Linked DNA regions of Homo sapiens: all the other regions are linked to region 6. Evidence: promoter capture Hi-C in 16 types of primary human blood cells and fetal thymus (Javierre and others, 2016). All regions are on one chromosome and are shown on one strand. Each heading gives the region's core, a stretch centred on a gene start or on the middle of the fragment in contact. The rest is flanking DNA. Distances are from core to core; before and after follow the strand shown.

The links. The method cuts DNA at HindIII sites, captures the fragments that hold promoters and counts their contacts. A CHiCAGO score of 5 or more calls a contact.
Region 1: a fragment that was not itself captured here is called in contact with the fragment with the promoter of ING4 in region 6 in 8 of 17 cell types (non-activated CD4 T cells, naive CD4 T cells, activated CD4 T cells and 5 more); the score reaches 20.2 in non-activated CD4 T cells.
Region 2: the fragment with the promoter of C12orf57 here is called in contact with the fragment with the promoter of ING4 in region 6 in 2 of 17 cell types (non-activated CD4 T cells and naive CD4 T cells); the score reaches 7.5 in non-activated CD4 T cells.
Region 3: a fragment that was not itself captured here is called in contact with the fragment with the promoter of ING4 in region 6 in 3 of 17 cell types (non-activated CD4 T cells, activated CD4 T cells and naive CD4 T cells); the score reaches 7.9 in non-activated CD4 T cells.
Region 4: a fragment that was not itself captured here is called in contact with the fragment with the promoter of ING4 in region 6 in 1 of 17 cell types (activated CD4 T cells); the score reaches 5.3 in activated CD4 T cells.
Region 5: a fragment that was not itself captured here is called in contact with the fragment with the promoter of ING4 in region 6 in 2 of 17 cell types (naive CD4 T cells and total CD8 T cells); the score reaches 5.1 in naive CD4 T cells.
Region 7: a contact is called between a fragment that was not itself captured here and the fragment with the promoter of ING4 in region 6, in 2 of 17 cell types (naive CD8 T cells and non-activated CD4 T cells). The highest score is 6.1, in naive CD8 T cells.

Annotation. Positions count from the first base shown.
Region 1 is chr12:6,973,269-6,975,968 of GRCh38, forward strand. EMG1 (EMG1 N1-specific pseudouridine methyltransferase) reads left to right here. Exons shown (of 6, transcript NM_006331.8): 2 at 1,071-1,172; 3 at 1,284-1,425; 4 at 1,822-1,880; 5 at 1,961-2,110; 6 at 2,428-2,700. The coding sequence ends at 2,541. Among named protein-coding and RNA genes, the nearest start is that of EMG1, 3.7 kb to the left of the region's middle. The HindIII fragment of the contact is 838 bases long and covers 1,032-1,869 here.
Region 2 is chr12:6,942,642-6,945,390 of GRCh38, forward strand. It overlaps C12orf57 (chromosome 12 open reading frame 57), which reads left to right and starts at 1,381. Exons shown (of 3, transcript NM_138425.4): 1 at 1,381-1,532; 2 at 1,835-2,011. The coding sequence starts at 1,481. It overlaps RNU7-1 (RNA, U7 small nuclear 1), which reads left to right and starts at 1,175; the gene lies at 1,175-1,237. RefSeq lists enhancers at 1,189-1,768, 1,268-1,457, 1,758-1,877, 1,769-2,348, 1,888-2,037 and 1 more and a silencer at 1,671-1,930. The HindIII fragment of the contact is 10,579 bases long and covers 1,320-2,749 here.
Region 3 is chr12:7,011,875-7,014,574 of GRCh38, forward strand. All of the region lies in intron 1 of LPCAT3 (lysophosphatidylcholine acyltransferase 3), which reads right to left. Among named protein-coding and RNA genes, the nearest start is that of LPCAT3, 5.3 kb to the right of the region's middle. The HindIII fragment of the contact is 2,598 bases long and covers 83-2,680 here.
Region 4 is chr12:7,056,524-7,059,223 of GRCh38, forward strand. No RefSeq gene overlaps it. Among named protein-coding and RNA genes, the nearest start is that of C1S, 2.8 kb to the right of the region's middle. The HindIII fragment of the contact is 386 bases long and covers 1,158-1,543 here.
Region 5 is chr12:6,330,722-6,333,421 of GRCh38, forward strand. TNFRSF1A (TNF receptor superfamily member 1A) reads right to left here. Exons shown (of 10, transcript NM_001065.4): 4 at 2,646-2,700; 5 at 2,348-2,426; 6 at 132-205. Among named protein-coding and RNA genes, the nearest start is that of TNFRSF1A, 10 kb to the right of the region's middle. The HindIII fragment of the contact is 4,278 bases long and covers 1-2,700 here.
Region 6 is chr12:6,661,830-6,664,529 of GRCh38, forward strand. It overlaps ING4 (inhibitor of growth family member 4), which reads right to left and starts at 1,290. Exons shown (of 8, transcript NM_016162.4): 1 at 1,236-1,290. The coding sequence starts at 1,272. RefSeq lists an enhancer at 1,261-1,320. The HindIII fragment of the contact is 5,227 bases long and covers 404-2,700 here.
Region 7 is chr12:6,347,867-6,350,588 of GRCh38, forward strand. SCNN1A (sodium channel epithelial 1 subunit alpha) reads right to left here. Exons shown (of 13, transcript NM_001038.6): 9 at 1,461-1,539; 10 at 1,298-1,355; 11 at 1,084-1,139; 12 at 861-936; 13 at 1-387. The coding sequence ends at 7. LOC107984500 (a long non-coding RNA gene) reads left to right here and starts at 315. Exons shown (of 4, transcript XR_007063191.1): 1 at 315-401. The HindIII fragment of the contact is 4,954 bases long and covers 1-2,722 here.

The sequences.
Region 1 (2,700 bases), core at 201-2,700, 310 kb after region 6:
GCCATCCTCCCACCTTAGCCTCCCAAGTAGCTAGGACTACAGGCATGTGCCACCATGCCCAGCTAATTTTTGTATTTTTAGTAGAGATGGGGTTTCGCCATGTTGCCCAGGCTGGTCTTGAACTCCTGACCTTAAGTGATTTGCCTGCCTTGGCCTCCCAGAGTGCTGGGATTACAGCCGTGAGCCACTGCATCTGCCCCCATGCCCGTCTTAAAACTGGGAATAACCCCTCTTCCTTTTACTTCTGAGAGTTTTCTTTGATTAAACTGCCTCCTGCATCATTAGTTTTCACATTTCTTTTTTTTGAGATGGAGTCTCGCTCTGTTGCCCGGGCTGGAGTGCAGTGGCGCTGCAAGCTCCGCCTCCTGGGTTCATGCCATTCTCCTGCCTCTGCCTCCCAAGTAGCTGGGACTACAGGCGCCTGCCACCATGCCCGGCTAATTTTTTATATTTTTAGTAGAGATGGGGTTTCACCGTGTTAGCCACGATGGTCTCAATCTCCTGACCTTGTGATCTGCCCGCCTCGGCCTCCCAAAGTGCTGGGATTACAGGCGTGAGCCACCACGCCCGGCCTTCACATTTCTTGTTCAGATTTGCAGCTCTTCACTTAGTGCATGTTTGGTGTACGCAAACTGAGGGTGGTGACTCGATATTTTGCACAGTACCTACTTACTGCTCCTGTAATAAACACAGCATTCAGCCTTGCTAACTACTAACTCCTGCCTAGTTCCAGGATGTCTCATTGGCCTTGCCTAACAGCCACAGGTTTTTTAATTAAATCCAGTGTATTAGTAGATAATGTGAAGTCACAGGTTGTGCCCTTCCTCCTGTTTCCCTCTCAGACCATTCACTGGGGAGTGCAAATAAGGCTGCACAGTAATCCCCCGAAGGGCTTGCTGGGCTCCACCCCCAGTGTTCCTGGTTTAGTAGGTCTAGGGTGGGCCTGAGAATTTGCCTAACAAGTTTCCAGGTGCAGCTGCTGCTGGTAGTTTGGGGACCACACTTGAAGAACCACGGGGCTAGGTAACAGAAGCTTATGCTGTTCTCTCGTCATGTTCCCTGTTCTTCAGGTAGGGAAGACATATGAGCTACTCAACTGTGACAAGCACAAGTCTATATTGTTGAAGAATGGACGGGACCCTGGGGAAGCGCGGCCAGATATCACCCACCAGGTAACTCCAGGGACAGTGCTCACAACCCTTTGAGCCTCTGTATGGAAGGGTTGGCAGCTGAGTGCTGCCTCTCTTCAGCCTTAACCATGTCTCGGTTTCTGCTTTGCTCAGAGTTTGCTGATGCTGATGGATAGTCCCCTGAACCGAGCTGGCTTGCTACAGGTTTATATCCATACACAGAAGAATGTTCTGATTGAAGTGAATCCCCAGACCCGAATTCCCAGAACCTTTGACCGCTTTTGTGGCCTCATGGGTAAGAAGCCTTAGAACAAAGTTAGAATGAACTTGTCAGTAGGGAAGAAGGGAGGAAGAGGAAAAGGGAGAACTAAATGTGGATTTTTAAGCGAGAAAATGGGAGAACAACATGATTAATACCAGGACAAGGACTGTTATTATTTTTCTATGTTTGTGGAAACTCCACTCCTGTTCTTGCAGTAGCTTCCTGGCTGAGTGAAAGAGGGAGTCTGAACCCATCACTGTACAGCTAGCCATATGCTTGGCAACTGTTTGTTCCTAACATTTCAGGAGTCCAGTCTAGATATAAAGCACACAGGGAACTCATCTTATCCATGGGGTTTTCCTTGTTCGATGACTGGACAGAAGGACTGTGGTCTCCATCTAGCTCTGAACTCTTTTTTCCCCCTTCTAGTTCAACTTTTACACAAGCTCAGTGTTCGAGCAGCTGATGGCCCCCAGAAGCTTTTGAAGGTGAGGTATTGAAACCTGTTAGTTGAAGGCTGGTTCTGGGAATGTTTCTGGGGCTGACTTTTCTCTCTTTTTTACTTTAGGTAATTAAGAATCCAGTATCAGATCACTTTCCAGTTGGATGTATGAAAGTTGGCACTTCTTTTTCCATCCCGGTTGTCAGTGATGTGCGTGAGCTGGTGCCCAGCAGTGATCCTATTGTTTTTGTGGTAGGGGCCTTTGCCCATGGCAAGGTAAGGTCTGGGCTCAACCCTGAAATTCTTGGTAGAGCTGAACTTAGTATAGAATTCCCAGAGCAGTAGGCATTTTAACAATGCTTACAATGAGCTAGAAGACACATGACAGTTCCACACCCTGCCCCAGGGCACATCCTTTGAGGGCTGCTGCCATAATTGGAAGTCACAGTTAGGACCTTCTTCATCCTTTGTAGGGATTTGATATTCAACAGCACAGCTGAAATACTAGCTCAGCCATAGTTTTCCTGCCCTAAAGAAGGGCTGAAACAGCTACTGAGTGACAGAGTTGGCTGACAAAACTGTTCTTTTCTTAGGTCAGTGTGGAGTATACAGAGAAGATGGTGTCCATCAGTAACTACCCCCTTTCTGCTGCCCTCACCTGTGCAAAACTTACCACAGCCTTTGAGGAAGTATGGGGGGTCATTTGACAGTAGTAGAACCTGTTCTGAAACCAGAAACTGTTGATGTCACATCCTTTGACCCTGGTCTGAGCTGACTGCTGGAAGATGATCTTTCTGCACTGAGACTGTGGAGTTTGGGGAAGCCAAGGCTGTACATTTGCTATTTGTTTATCCTATGAATACTGT
Region 2 (2,749 bases), core at 131-2,630, 280 kb after region 6:
AGGAGTTGGAAACCAGCTTGGGCAACATAGAGAAACCCCATCTTAAGACAAAATCAGCTGGGGGTTGTGGTGCACTTGTGGTCCCAGCTACTCAGGAGGCTGAGGTGGGAGGATCACTTGGGGGTCGAGGCTACAGTGAGTCATGATCGCACCACTGCACTCTAGCCTGGGTGACAGAGCAAGGCCCTATCTCAAAACAAACAAACAAAAGACACCCCAACCAACCAAACACTAGAGGCCTGGGACAGGCCCACCTCTGACGTGGTCAGTTCTAGGAATCTATTCAGACGGGTCTCACTGCTAGGAGCCACCAGAGTCCTCCGGAACAAGGGCTTCAGAGTCCTGAAACCTTTCCGTGGAATACTTTAAGAAACGGTTATGAGGCCAGGCGCGACGGCTCACGCTGGTAATCCCAGGACTTTGGGAGGCCGAGGCGGGCGGATCACGAGGTCAGGAGTTCCAGACCAGCTTGGCCAACATGGCAAAACCCTGTCTCTACTAAAAACAAAACATTAGCTGGGCATGGTGGCGCGCGCCTGTCGTCCCAGCGACTTGGGAGGTTGAGGCAGGAGAATCGCTTGAACCCGGGAGGTGGAGGTTATGGTGAGCCAAGATCCCCCCCAGCTGCACTCCAGCTTGGCGACAGAGCAAGACTCCGTCTCAAAAACAAAAAACAAAGCCGGTTATGAAGCGGGGGTGGGGTGGGCTAGTTTTAATAGGTCCAGGCGATTAGTACCTGGCATCCTTAACCACCTACAGTTTGAGAAGGGAGTGGGTGATAAAAGCCTGGAAGGGAAGGGAAATCGGGCCGGGCATTAGGCTCCATCGCTCATCAATAGACAAGGCCTTTAGGAAACTGCGACAACGGCTTTTGCTCTGGGCCTTTACTGCCGAATCCAGGTCTCCGGGCTTAACAACAACGAAGGGGCTGTGACTGGCTGCTTTCTCAACCAATCAGCACCGAACTCATTTGCATGGGCTGAGAACAAATGTTCGCGAACTCTAGAAATGAATGACTTAAGTAAGTTCCTTAGAATATTATTTTTCCTACTGAAAGTTACCACATGCGTCGTTGTTTATACAGTAATAGGAACAAGAAAAAAGTCACCTAAGCTCACCCTCATCAATTGTGGAGTTCCTTTATATCCCATCTTCTCTCCAAACACATACGCAGCAGTGTTACAGCTCTTTTAGAATTTGTCTAGTAGGCTTTCTGGCTTTTTACCGGAAAGCCCCTCTTATGATGTTTGTTGCCAATGATAGATTGTTTTCACTGTGCAAAAATTATGGGTAGTTTTGGTGGTCTTGATGCAGTTGTAAGCTTGGGGTATGAAGGTTTGGGCCACGCCTGGGCGCTTCCGGCTGCGCCGGATGCTGTTTCCTTTCCGCTCCCAGGGGCGTTGGGAACGGTTGTAGGACGTGGCTCTTTATTCGTGAGTTTTCCATTTACCTCCGCTGAACCTAGAGCTTCAGACGCCCTATGGCGTCCGCCTCGACCCAACCGGCGGCCTTGAGCGCTGAGCAAGCAAAGGGTGAGAATCGTCCTAGTCAAGGCATAGGCTGCTGGCCTGGGGTAGTCAAGGCATGGGCTGCTGGTCTGGGGAGGATGCGGGCGGAGGATGTGGGGCGACAAACCTGGCTACGTCCGCCGGGAAAATGGGGTAGGGGACGCCGGGTACCGTCCTTCTAAGTGGGGCGCTTGCCCCCAAGACTTGGGATCTTATTGGGTTACCTACAGCCTCAATCCACTAATTCCTTGCGCTCTCCGCTGGGCCCGCTGTCTGTTCTCCGACGCCTACCCGGGACGCCTCCCTGGGATGCTTCTGGCGCGCAGTGGTCCTCGCGGAGGTGATCCAGGCGTTCTCCGCCCCGGAGAATGCAGTGCGCATGGACGAGGCTCGGGATAACGCCTGCAACGACATGGGTAAGATGCTGCAATTCGTGCTGCCCGTGGCCACGCAGATCCAGCAGGAGGTTATCAAAGCCTATGGCTTCAGCTGCGACGGGGAAGGTGGGTCAGACGCGGGAAGGCGGGTCAGACGCGGGAAGGCGGGAGTTGGGTCGGGAGAGGGCGCCGGATCTGTGGGCCCATGAGCGGTTGTCCCCTTTCTCGCCACACGGCGGCAGCCACAATCTGACTAACATTCTTGGCACTCAGAGCCCAGGGTCTACCCTGAGCTTGTGCGTCCGAGTTGCGTTTTGTACAGTAGAGGTTCTGTATCCCTTACCCGAAATGGTTGGGACCGGAAGTGTTTCGGGTTTTTTCAGATTTCGGAATATTTACATATACATGGATATCTTGGGGGATGGGACCTAAATCTGAACACGAAATTGTTTTGTTTCATATACACGCACCTTATGCACATAGCCTGAGGGTAATTTTATATAATAGTCTGAATAATTTTGTGCATGAGACAAAGTTTTGACTGCGTTTTGACTACAGTCTCCCCCACCCCCCACTATGAAGTCAGGTGTGGAATTTTCCATTTTCGGCCTCACACTGGCACTCATAATTTCAGATTTTGGATTTTCTAATTAAGGATGGTCAACCTGTACTGTTAATCACATTATTATTCCATTTTGTGATGAGGAAGCAAACTCTAATGGTGCAGACTCTCGAGTAGCAGAGCTGGACTTAAATGCTGTTGTGCCACCTTTTAGTGACATGTCTGCATGACAGCAGTGGCTGCAGTCTCTCCAGGGTGTTTCAGCTAATTTTTGTTTGGGGGGGGTTGGTGGTTAAATTTTT
Region 3 (2,700 bases), core at 132-2,631, 350 kb after region 6:
CTTTGTTTCATTAATGCTGCTTAATTTTCATCTAGCTTACCTTTGGTCTCTTTATATTGTGATTCCAGTGCTACCTGAAGAAAGCTTTCTGCACTGAATAATGGATTTTTTTCTGAAGGGCCAGACCTGACTTTGGTCCAAAGGGAACTAAACTGCAGGACCTCCTTTGATTTTAAAGGTCGCTAACTTTAGTGATGCTAATTCTGAACCTCTGAGGGATGAATTGTTACCCCCAGCTGCAATTTTTGATCAGTCTAACAGCCAAGCCACCATCATGGCCAAGACTAGGGAACACTCACAGTAAGCAGGGTGGCCATCTGCTCCATTTGGCCAGCTCTAGCTTTGGACACTGAGAGGTGGCTCATATACTGATTGCATCTTGGTTTAACCACTGAGAGTGAAAAGAGAAAAGGACACCAAGGGCATTTATCTTTTCCAGCCCCACATGCTCCTCCCAATCTCAGCGGTAAAGAGCAGGAACTCTGGAGTCAGGCAGAACTCAGTGTGACTTACTCAATCTTTGTAGGGCTGACTTTCCTATCTGTACCAGGAGATCTTAACAGCACTATAATTACCTCACGGGTAACTGGCAGGTTTAGGTGGGGAACTGCCTGTTGACCATTTAGGACAATGTCTGGTACACAGAAAATCCTTAATAAATGCCAGCTATTACTATTATCAAGGGGTAGCAACATTAACATACCCAATCAACGTGAATAAGATCCTCTTCTCTGTATAACCTTTTCCATGGCATTTCATTCCCTCCCTGAGTCAGTTATGATACCAATACTGTCTCCTAAAACTCTGTCTTTAGCCCAGCTTCTTTCCTGAGCTCAAGACCAGGCTTCACAACTCCCAAGATACCTGGAAGTGCCCTTGGAACCTAAAGTGAACCCCAAACCAGATCATTTCCTGGCACTTAAGAGTATCTGATCCTCCACTTGATCTCTGGCATTGGTCAAAGATACCCTTATCTTTCCAGCTACTCAGGCAGGAGGATGGAGTCTTTTTAAAATTACGACTTTATCCTCCAGCTAATAAGTTGCCAAGTCATTCATTCATACATTCACCTATTCAAGTATTTATCGAGCCTTTTCTACAAGCCAAGTAATGTGTTAAACTCTGGGTACACTGTGGTAAACAAAACTTCCATGGTTTCTGTCCTCATCTACAAATATATAATTACAAAGTGTAATATATACTTGGAAGGAAATTCCGGTCAGTATGAGAAAGTGTAACAGGGGACATAATTGAACATGAGAGTCAGGAAAGAACTCAGAGGAAGATGAAAAGGAGTTTGTCAGGTGACTGAAGGGCACTCCAGGCAGCAGGTAAGCGTGTGCAAAGGCTCTGAGGTAGGGAAGCCTTCATGCCTTTCCTGAGGAACTGAACAAAGGCCATGTGGCTAAAAGGTTGTCAGCTTGCTTGGGACGAGGCTGGGGCAGCAGGCAGGGGCTTACCAGCCAGGTATGGAAGCCCCTGAAGGGTTCTGAGCAGGAGAGGCACAGGATCGGATCACTCTGGCTGCTTTTGGAGAGTGGACTGAGGGGGCAAGAACAGAATTAGAGACTAGTCAGGAGGCTACTTGGGTGGTGCTGGTGACAGATGGTTAGTGGCTGTGGTGATGGAGAATAGTAGATGGATCTGAGACACAATCCAGAGGTTGTATTGATAGGATTGGGTGACTGGGATGTGGGGAGTGAGTGAAGAAAGGCAACAAAGCTGATTCTTGGGTTTCAGGCATGAGCAGCTGTGTAGATGACTGTGTCTACAGAATCTACCTTTCAAAAGGTTCCGGTATTCCTAGACCATCTCACAGGAGATGCCCACTTTCTCCTCTCAGCACAGCCACCCTGCCTCCAAGTCATTATAACTTCCTCTCTAGATCACTTCTTTCTCCTTAGTTTCCCTACTACTTGTCTATGCTGACTTCAAATCACCCCAGGCTGTATTATCTTTTTAAATACAGCTCCAGCCATATTATTCCCCACTCAAAAATCTCCAATGTTCCCTATCACCTACGTGAGTACTAACTCTTTACCTTGGCTTTAAAGGCTCTTTAACCTACAGTTCCAGCCTGATTTTCCATCACTTCTTTAAAGTCCTGTTTTAGTCACACTAGACTACTGACTGTTCCTTGGCTGTGTTGCCACATTCACACCTCAGTGCCTCTGCTCATGCTATTCCTTAAGTCTTACCATCTCAGCATGCTGAAACCTTACTCATCTTTAAATGAAATGTCCCATCTTTAAATCTCACAAAGCTCTGTACCTCTCTTATGGTGCTTAAAATTTATTGGGGTTATTAGTATACTTATCTCAGGCCCATTTCCTATACCCTAACAGACCATAATACCTTTGAGTGCAGGGCTCCTGACTCATACTACACCCACTGCTCCTGCCCTTGCAGGGTTAAGAATACTGCTTTACCTGTAGTAGGTGCATGTTACTGAATTTATATGAGCAATTCATGGTATTAGTTACATTAAGGAGTGATGAGATCCAAGCTGTTGAAGGGGAGATGTTTTCTGGTAGTATTTGCCAGCACCAGGGCTCATGGCAAAATTCCTCTTCAGCATCCTTCCATCAAACTCCTTGCAAGCATACACCACACAAACATAAACACACTCCTTTTACAGTCTTCTGACTGCTCAAAATACTCCAGTGCAGCAGTCCACATAAGCTTACTTTTTCTTTGAAG
Region 4 (2,700 bases), core at 101-2,600, 390 kb after region 6:
CCCAGGGATTGGAAACCCACTAGCTGGGATTAAACAGAACACAAATTGGAACTGATAGTTTTGTGACTTTAACATAGACACTTTGGGCTTCAATTACTTTTGACTTTAATGTCATAGTTTCAGTTTGCAATGGGATTTGAACTTTAATTTTGGAGTTTGATTAATGGGAGGGTTATTTGTTGTTCAAATTTGAAAATGGGAGGGTTATTTGTTGTTCAAAACCTTTATTGTTGGCAATCCCTTGTTGGAGCTTCTTAATACCATCATTTAATCTCATTGTGGATCTCCGATAGCTACTTAGATAACATGGCTGCATGAAATTTTATTTTATTTATTTTTGAGACAGGGTCTCACTCTGTTGCCCAGGCTGGAGTGCAGTGGTGTGATCATAGCTCATTGCAGCCTCAAAATCCTGGGCTCAAGTTATCCTCCTCCCTTGGCCTCCTGAGTAGCTGGGACTACAAGTGCGTGCCACTATGCCTGACTAATTTTTTGACTTTTTGTAGAGATGAAATCTTGCTATGTTCCCCAGGCTGGTCTTGAACTCCTGGCATCAAGTGATCCTCTCTTTTTGGTCTACCAAAGTGCTGGGATTACAGCACTTTGGCATGAGCCACTATGCCTGACCAATGAAATTTGAGGTGGGAAACGGAGCACCCAGGCTGAAGTGCAATGCTGTGGTCATAGCTCACTGCAGGCTTGAACTCCTGGGCTCAAGCAATCCTCCTGCCTCTCAGCCTCCTGAGTAGCTGGGACCACAGGATGGCTAATTTTTAAACTTTTTTGTAGAGATGAGGTCTCCCTATGTTGCCTAGGCTGGTCTTGAACTCCCAGCCTCAAGCGATCCTCCCGCCTCAGCCTTCTGAGTTGCTGGGATTACAGGTGTGAGCCACTGCTCCTGGCAATGTATTTCAATTTCGTGGCAAAATTGCAGAAATGAACATAAAACACAGGTGAGGATAGGAGAGTCTAACTTTTCTGGCAAGATCGGGCAGTGTTGAGCTCCAAGGAAAAGGAGAAGGAACCCTGGACACATTGATAAGGCGTCCTCTTTTCCTTGGTATTAACTGAAGCATGCTCTTGATGGGGAGGAAGCTGCTGCTACTGCTGCCGTGTTTGGTGTTTGGAGAAGTTAATATGGTTTGTTATTTGTTAAAAGCTTACTGAGTACCAGGTATATGCTGAATGCTTAGCATACGTTATTTTGTTTAATCTTGGCCACAATGGGCCCTGACAGTGATAGCTGTGTCTGAAGTAGGTGCTATTATTCCCATTTTACACCTGATAAAGCTGGAGCTCAGAGAGGCATAGTAACTTTTTCAAGGTCACACGGCTAAAATGAAAGGTAATGAATGGTTTGAATTCACTTTGGCACATTCAATCAACCAATCCTCAGATACTCACTGAGCGTGTTGTATCAGCCATTATTTTTAGTTGCAAGCAGTAGAAACCAACTCTGGCTGAGTTTAGCAGAAGATGAATTTATTAAAGGGACCCTGGATTGCTCATGGAAATTCCAGGGGAGCTACAGAGCCATTGTGGAAGCTTCCCAGCAGGGACAATGGTCAGAACCTGGCTGCCGCTGCTGCCACTTCTTTGACCATGGCCTGGATGCTTCGGCTTGCAATGCTTACCCACTGGGGCTGGATGCTGGGTGCTGCTGAGAACTCTACCTCCTCTGTGATCTTGCTGTGGCCACCACTGTCCCTACAGGCTCTAGGGTCCCTGCTTCCTGGCATTACTGGCTCTGGATTGAAAGCCTGGGCCTCTGATGAATGGAACGTGTGTGCATGTGAAACTGCCTTTGCAAAGATGATGACAGTGAGGGAAGTCTAGCATGGGTGACTCCATCTTGCCTCTACCCTCACAGGCTGGCTGTCCTCACTCATTCCTGGGCATAGGCCAAGCTAACCATGGGAGGAATTTAGTTTACAGTTTAACTCTGAAGCAAAGATGATATTAGTCCCTCCCTAAAATGAACCCCCTCCTAGCTCAGGGACCTGCCTTTGTAAAACTAATGAAAGGCCACAAGATTAGGATTATGGGAGGGGCTTGAATTTTGCTAAGATGTGGGTGTAGCTAACCGATGACCAGCCATTGACCCCTAGCTTGCCTTTCTATAATCCTTTGCTGCTCAGGAGTCATGCGGCCAGAGGTCACAAGATCTGTGACTTCCCCAATTGCTCCTATAGATAACATCACTATTGTAAAACCAAATATTGGTCTTCTGAGATATTTTTCAGACTTTTGCATTCTGAAATGATTCATGACTCAACTGGTCCTGTGACCCCCACCCAGAGGTGGACTTAGTGCACAAGGTCTGTTTTCTACACTCCTATGATTTTATCCCCAACGAATCAGTAGCACCCATTCTCTGCTCTTACCGCCCACCAAATTCTCCTTAAGAACCCTAGCCTCTGAGTTCTTGTGGGGACTGATTTGAGAAATAAACTCCCATCCTTTCACTTGGCTAGCTCTGTGTTGTTAAACTCTTTCTCTACTGCAATACCATGGTCTCAGTGAATTGGTTTTGTCTACGCAGCAGGCAGGAAGAACCCTTCGGGTGATTACAAATTAGCCTGCTCCAGAGCTGCTGGAGGTGGGGGTGACACACTTCTTGTGCCTGTGTCTTCTTTCTTGGGAGGTCGGCTCTGTTCCCAAGACTGATATCATGGGGAACTCCTCTAATGTGGCAAAGCA
Region 5 (2,700 bases), core at 186-2,685, 330 kb before region 6:
AGCAGGTGTTGGTCAGAGGAGCGGGCAGAGGGGGGCCGCAGGGATAGATGGATGGGTGGGATGGATGGACGGGTGGGGGCAAGAAGAGGGAGAGGGCAGGTGAGCATGGGCACCAGGTCACTTCTCCTCACCTGAGTCCTCAGTGCCCTTAACATTCTCAATCTGGGGTAGGCACAACTTCGTGCACTCCAGGCTTTTCTTACAGCTAAAAGAAGAGACGGCACTGGTGAACAGAGGCCCTACCATTGGAGGAACACAGAAAAACAACCACACAGATTGTTGGACATCCTTTCTTTACAAATATTTTTGCTGTCTCTTGATATAATTTGTTTTGGGAACTGATGCAGAAGAATGAAACACAGTTAATCATAGAATCATTTAATTTTAGAATTGGCAGGGATCTTGAAAAGGCTGTGTAGAAAATGTGAAAAGCAGTCAGGGTCAGGGTGTAAATTCCAGTTCATTCCTTGGCTAGCAGTGTGAATCTAGGCAAGCCATTAACCCCCAAGCCTCGGTTTCCTCATCACCACAGGGATCGCCCACCTCTCAGGATTGAGGATTAAGCAAAATCATTATGCCTCATTTAATAAGTGCTTGAGAAGGTAGCCAGCTAGCTGTTATGGGATTGTTGTTTCATCACTGTTTTGCTGATAAGAATCCTTTGGCAAAGAGAGGTTAAAGGGCTTTTTCTTAAATGACACTGCTAGTTACAGTACCTGACTTCGGGGAGTCGGGGTCAAACATGCATGTGAAAAATTTAAAAACACATGTTACTGGGGCAGCCAGAGAGCACCCTGTAGAACTAGCAGATCTTCCATGTTGGGAGTTGTCACTGGACAGTGTGGAGTGATGGGAACTCTATGGGGTGGTGCTGGAAGGAACTTGAGAGAGTGAGTTCCCAGCAGGAAGCTGAAAGCAGGGAGAGGCACTTTAGCCCACCACTCAAGCTCATGGTGAGAACCACATAGAATGGTATAAAAGTGATTTCAAGAAGAGATGAAGCCGGCTGGGTGCAGTGGCTCACGGCTGTAATCCCAGCACTTTGGGAGGCAGAGGCAGGTGGATCACCAGGAGTTTGAGACCAGCCTGACCAAGATGGTGAAACCCCATCTCTACTAAAAATACAAAAATTAGCCAGGCATGGTGGCACGTGCCTGTAATCCCAGCTACTTGGGAGGCTGAAGCAGGAGAATTGCTTGAATCTGGGAGGCAGAGGTTGCAGTGAGCCGAGATCGCGCCACTGCATTCCAGCCTGGGCGACAGAGCAGGACTCTGTGTCAAAAAAAAAAAAAAAAAAAAAAAAGAAGATTAATGGAAAATAAATAGTTTTGTGTCAGACGTGTTGTAGGTTTTGTTTGTTTCTTTGTTTTTGGTTCTCACAAATTCACCAAATGAATGTCATTATGCTTACTTTAAATATAAGAAATCTAAGGCCCAGGCCAGGCGTGGTGGCTCATGCCCGTAATCCTAGCACTTTGGGAGGCTGAGGCGGAAGATCGCTTGAGCCCAGGAGTCCGAGGCCAGCCTGGGCAATATAGTAGGACCCTGTCTCTACAAAAAGTAAAACATTAGCTGGGTGTAGTGGTGTGTGCCTCTAATCCCAGCTACTCAGGAGGCTAAGGCAAGAGGATGGCTTGAGCCCTGGAGGTGGAGGCTGAGCCACGGTTGCACCACTGCACTCCAGCCTGGGTGACAGAGTGAAACCCTGTCTCAAAAAAAAAAAAAAAAAAAAAACACCAAAAGAAAAGTCAGGCTCAGAGATGTTAAGAAACTTGCCCAACGTCACATAGCCAGTAAGTGGCTATGCTGGGGTTCAAACTCTGAGAGCCCTCAGAGTTTATTCTTTGCAAGTGAGTGACAAGAACAGCCTCTGTGGAGCCAGGAGTAAGGAGGCCTGGACAGTGACTAATGAGGAAATACCATATTGCATCAAACCTAAGACGCCATCAAGAATAAAAGGCACTTTTCTTTACATTACTACCCAGACGCAAACAGAGCTGCCAATTCAACCATGATGAGTCACCAGTTATAGGAGGTTTGATTTCAGAGCTATAAGAGTGTATGTCCTAGAACCAATGAGCTATCGTAGATCCAAGAATCTACATATCTGAGTTGGAAGGGCTGCCAGCCCTTGGGGCATGATCTTCCATCCTCAAAGACTTCTTCAGATTTGAAGAGCAAGGGGAAGGACTGCCTGGTGTCTTAACGAAGTGTCTCCTACTCAGCCAGTAGGACCCTGAGCACTCTGGGGCATCCTGGCATCTGTTGCCCAGCTAATGGTTCCCACCAGTCACCCGTCCCAACCCATGCCACCATCCAGTGCCCAGCAGCTCTCAGAGATACTCACTTACTACAGGAGACACACTCGTTTTCTCTTAGAAAGAAACCTGCATGGCAGGTGCACACGGTGTTCTGTTTCTCCTGGCCTGTAGGGAGAAGTGCGGCACAGCTAAAGGAGAAGCGCCTGCACCCCCACCCCACAGGACAGAGGAAGTGACGAGGGACAGGGTGGGGGCGGCCAGAGAGGAGTTGGTTGTCAGACCCACAGAATACAGGAGGGGGAAGGAAAGGAAGTGCCACCGCATGGGGAAGGGGCCAACCCCTGGGGTGGGGAGAGGGCTTGGCCTCAGGAGAGCTGCGCTCACAGGAGAGGTGCACGGTCCCATTGAGGCAGAGGCTGCAATTGAAGCACTGGAAAAG
Region 6 (2,700 bases), core at 40-2,539:
TTCTGTAACTCCCTAAAATCAGGTTCTTATCTCTGTCCTGGAATGTTATCACTAATTGATCTCTGTTATCAACAATATCATGCTCCAATTTACCATATATTAGTCATTTTCCTCTATAAAAATCATACTCTACTTTAAAATGCAAACTTCTTCGTTTGGCTTAAAAGACCTTGTCCAATCTAGCCTCAGCCTCTTTCTCCAGTCTCCTTTCTCAATTTCTTACCTTAGATTCATAAATATCAAATACGCTGACCTCTGAGTCATAAATATCAAACACCCTTGACCTTGCCACAAACCCATCACAGTACCTTTGCGGATGCTTTCCCCAACCTGGAATTCCTTTTTTCTCTCCTCACTGGCAAATAACCTTCAAGACCCTATTCAAACATCACCTCCGCTGTAAAGCTTTTCCTACATCCCCAGGTAATTACCCCCCTTTTCTCCAGGGTTGCCTACCAAGTGTCCTTTTTAATGTATTTCCATTATCTCACTTGTCACAGTGTTTTATAATTATTTGCAGAATCTGTTTCCTACTAGATCGTGAGCTTCTTGAGGGCAGGAGCCTTGTCTTACTCATTTTTCTATCCCTAGTGCCTGCCATTATGTCTGACCCATAGCAGGACCTCAATAAATATTTGTTGAATAAATGACTCCGGGCCCTAAAACAAATGTAAGCGCACAGAGCAATAGGCTTTCTGCAGGGGTGGTTTACATAAATCGCATAAACACCAGATTTTCATTTGATGGGAATTAGATCTTTACTCCATGAAGAGAAGCGTTCTAGTTCATCATCTGACAGTGGTCACTCATCACCACCACTCTCAACCCCATGAGAAGCCACTTTTGAGGAAGAATGGAGTGGAGGAGAGGTCTTTACCGCTTCTCCAAATGGCAGTGTGTGATAACGATTCTGAACGACTATGGGGAAAAAAATCTACCGAGGCTGGAGACCCTGGAGAATGGGGGCAGCAACTATCTTCCTGGCCATGCACACTAGCCCTTCAAGACACGTCTCTAACCCCCACACCGCACCCCTCCCTCGTCTACACCCATCAGCGGGGCCTCGATCCTGCTGCCCCGCCCCCTCTTTCTCCGCACCCTCCAATATTTCCTGCCACAGAACCGCTTCATAATTGTGACCTTCTCGTCACTGGAACTTAAGGGCTACAGATCCTCTCATCCCTGATCCCCGCACCACTCTGCAGCCCCGACCCCCACCTCCAGCCTGCTCTTACTGTCCAGATAATGTTCCAAATACATCCCCGCAGCCATCTCGAAGCAAAACAAAGCAACTTCCGATCCGCCCCGGAAGTGACTGTAACGCGACAGGGGCCGAAGCCATTTTGCGGCTAAAGCCTTTCCGCCCTTAAAAGGAGAACTTCCGCCCTTAAAAGGAGAACTTCCGCCCTTAAAGGAGAACTTCCGCCCTTACTATATTACCGCCGGTACACATCCGCCCGACACTGAAACTTTTCCTTTTGCATGGTAGCCACGACCGCCCACAGTGAGGCGGCTGTAGCCCGCTTCCGCCCTTACAGACACCCCAGGACGCGACCGAGACAGGTATGACGTCACTGGAGGTCGCCATTTTGCATTCTCTAGCAAACTTTTTTCCCTCCAAAACGGGAATGTATGGTAATCCGTGCAGGGGTAACTGTTCACTTTAGGCTCATATTGCGTAAACATACCTTCTCAGCAACTGGAAGATCCAACTTTTTTTCCCTCTTTTGCAGAATGACTTTTTTCAAGCCAGTTAGTTTCTTAAGGAAGTTGGGGAAGAGTATCAGGCCTTGAGACATTTAAACCGTCTGAATTTCTATTCACTCACACAAACACCATCTCCCCCAGCATTATTTTTTTAACTTGAGAAAGATGATCACCTTTCTACTTATAAATACAAAGAATGACTCATAATAAAGCTATAATTCTGCACATCTTTTGTCAGAGCTCCTGTACGTTACACTAGAATACACTTTCACATATAAAATATTACTTCCTGCCTTGCCCTCTTGCTTTTTTTTTTTTTTTTTTGAGACAGAATTTTCACTCTTATTGCCCAGGCTGGAGTGCAATGGCGTGATCATGGCTCACCGCAACCTCCACCTCCCGGGTTCAAGTGATTCTTCTGTCTCAGCCTCCCGTGTAGCTGGGATTACAGGTATGCACCATCACGCCAGACTAATTTTGTATTTTTAGTAGAGATGGGGTTTCTCCATGTCGGTGAGGCTGGTCTCGAACTTCCGACCTCAGGTGATCTGCCCACCTCAGCCTCTCAAAGTGCTGGGATTACAGGTGCGAACCACTGTGCCTGGCCCCTCTTGCTACTCTCTAAGGGGGAAATCTCGTGTTTTTGTTTTCCTTTTGTTTATATGTGATGTTAGCATCATAATTCTGAAGGGATTGAGGGATGCAGCAGTATCACTACTGGGCTAGTTGGCTAGTTAGTTGCTAGCCATCACTCTAGTCAGCTATGGTAGAGTGATTTCTATGGTTTTCATCAGAATGGGAAGCAGTCAAGGGTATGAGAGGCTGCCAACACACTAGGCTGTCAACACACTGCCAACACAAAGGCCATAACCTAATAGTGGTGTTAGTAAGATAGTATTTTAGAGATAGCTGCCACCCCTCACACTTTTCGTACCCTCACACATCCTTCATAAGAATTACCAATGTCTTACGGCAAGTTTTTAAAGAGACAGA
Region 7 (2,722 bases), core at 138-2,637, 310 kb before region 6:
TCCCTCTCAGGGCCCCCCCAGAGGACAGGTGGAGGAACTGGCCCCTGCAGAGCCCCCTGGAGATGGGCGGGGGCCCAGGGTGGCATAGGCAGGGGGAGGGGCTGTCAAGGCTGGAGAGGGAGCAGGGCCTGGCTGGGACAAGGACAGAGACATGGGGTGGGGGCAGAAGTGGGAAGGAGGGGAGGATGCCAGGGTGGAGGCTACCTCCTGAGCACCCCTGCCCCCTCGGCCTGGAGACCAGTATCGGCTTCGGAACCTTCGGAGCAGCATGAGGAACATGATGACCAGCAGGTCAAAGACGAGCTCAGCCATCTCCACCACAGACAACACCGAGGAGCCGAACCACAGGCTCCACTGGCTGCCCAGGTTGGACAGGAGGGTGACCATCTGTGAGAGGAGAGGTACATTGACGATGGGACAGAGGGTTCTGGATGGACTCTGGCAGAGGAGCCCCCTTCCCTCCTCACCAAGCTGTCTCCCTTCATCCCTGAAGACCCCCGAGTCCTCTCAGCCTCTCAGCAGCCCCCTGGGCTCTTTGTCTCTGCTCCTGGCCAGTGTCACCCAGAGAAAACTGATAACTGGCCCACAGTTAGGGGCAGCTGAAATGGGGGCATGGGTCAAGCGCCTTCACCCCAGCATCTAGCATGCCTGTCCCTCCCACCACCCCCAGAGACCTTATGCCCCGGCCGAGCTCCTTCTTCCAACCCTCCCAACCTCTCCCTTGACCCTCTTCTTTGGTCCCCTGCCTTTGAGACTCAGAGCCTTCTGGCCCACAGAGACAACCTTTTGGTTTTCCCCGACAGCCGCCCTGCTAAGTAAGACCCCCAGAGCATCACAGGCTCCATCCAGGCACGACCTACCGTGACAGAGGGAGACTCAGAATTGGTTTTGTAGTTCAGCTCCTTGAAGAAGATGTTGACTTTGGCCACTCCATTTCTTAGGTGTGGGGCAGAGGGTGGGAAGAAATGGTAGAGGATGAATTTCCTGGACCTTCCTCTAATCAACCATATCGATCCCTCTTCTTAGGTCTATTTTCCCTCCCAAAGATTCCCTTCTTGTGGCTGGGACCAGGGCAGGACTGACCTCTTGTTGTTGACGGTGTAATTGTTCTGTCGCGATAGCATCTGGAAGACCCATTCCTAGGAAAGAATGGGGGTGTCATCAAGGTCACTCCCATATGCTTCAGGCTTACAGGGATAGGGTTGTGTCAAACACACTCATACACATAATACCCAGAGAAGGCCACAGCATTACATGGGCACACACATCCCCCACCCATCCCTTCCCCACACTCTACCTGGGATGTCACCGAGGGCCATCGTGAGTAACCAGCAGAGAGCTGGTAGCTGGTCACGCTGGGGATGGAGAAAGGTGCTCAGTGTTGGGGCAGAGCTCTCCCAAATGCTTGGCTCGGTAACCTGTATTCTACCCAACCTGTACCCGGGGAAGGGGACACTAACCTGCATGGCTTCCGGCACTTGGTGAAACAGCCCAGGTGGTCTGAGGAGAAGTCAACCTGGAGCTTATAGTAGCAGTACCCTGTGGGTACAGAGAGATGCCTGTTCTCCTAGGGCACCTCAGCTTTCTCTACCCCACACCCAAGAGGTCTCCCAAGATCCCTGGGTACCCACTTTACAAGAGCATTATTTAGCATTATAATGATGCCTTATGAGTGGCAGTACCAAGAAGCGTTTAAGAAATTAAGCTAAGCCAGGGACAGTGGCTCAGCACTTTGGGAGGCCGAGGTGGGAGGGTCGTTTGAGGCCAGGAGTTCAAGGTTGCAAGTGAGCTATGAGTGTGCCTTTGTACTCCAACTCTGGCAACAGAGTGAGACCTTGTCTCTAAAAAAAAAAATTTTTAATAAATTAATTTTTTTTTTAGACGGAGTTTCGCTCTGTTGCCCACGCTAGAGTGCAGTGGCGCAATCTTGGCTCACTGCAAGCTCCGCCTCCCGGGTTCATACCATTCTCCTGCATCAGCCTCCGGAGTAGCTGGGACTACAGGCGCCCGCCACCACGCCCGGCTAATTTTTCGTATTTTTAGTAGAGATGGGGTTTCTCTGTGTTAGCCAAGATGGTCTCGATCTCCTGACCTCGTGATCTGCCCGCCTCGGCCTCCCAAAGTGCTGGGATTACAGGTGTGAGCGACCGCACCTGGCCTAAAAAATAAATTAATAAAGAAAGAAAATAAGCTAAGTCAGGCGAAAAACAAAACAGGATACACCAGTGTAAGGAAATATATGCTATGGACAAAAACATAAACGCCATAAAGAAAAATGGGAACAGGCCGGGCGTGGTGGCTCACGCCTGTAATCCCAGCACTTTGGGAGGCCGAGGCGGGTGGATCACGAGGTCAAGAGATCGAGACCATCCTGGCTAACACGGTGAAACCCCGTCTCTACTAAAAATACAAAAAATTAGCCGGGCGTGGTGGCGGGCGCCTGTAGTCCCAGCTACTCGGGAGGCTGAGGCAGGAGAATGGCGTGAACCCGGGAGGCGGAGCTTGCAGTGAGCCGAGATCGCGCCATTGCACACTCTAGCCTGGGCGACTGAGCGAGACTCCGTCTCAAAAAAAAAAAAAAAGAAAAGAAAAATGGGAACAATAATTGTATAAGAATAAGGGAATTAAGCCACAATAAGATACCACTTCACACCCATTAAGATGTGTGTTATTTAAAAAAAGACAATAGGCTGGGTGCGGTGGCTCACGCCTGTAATACCAA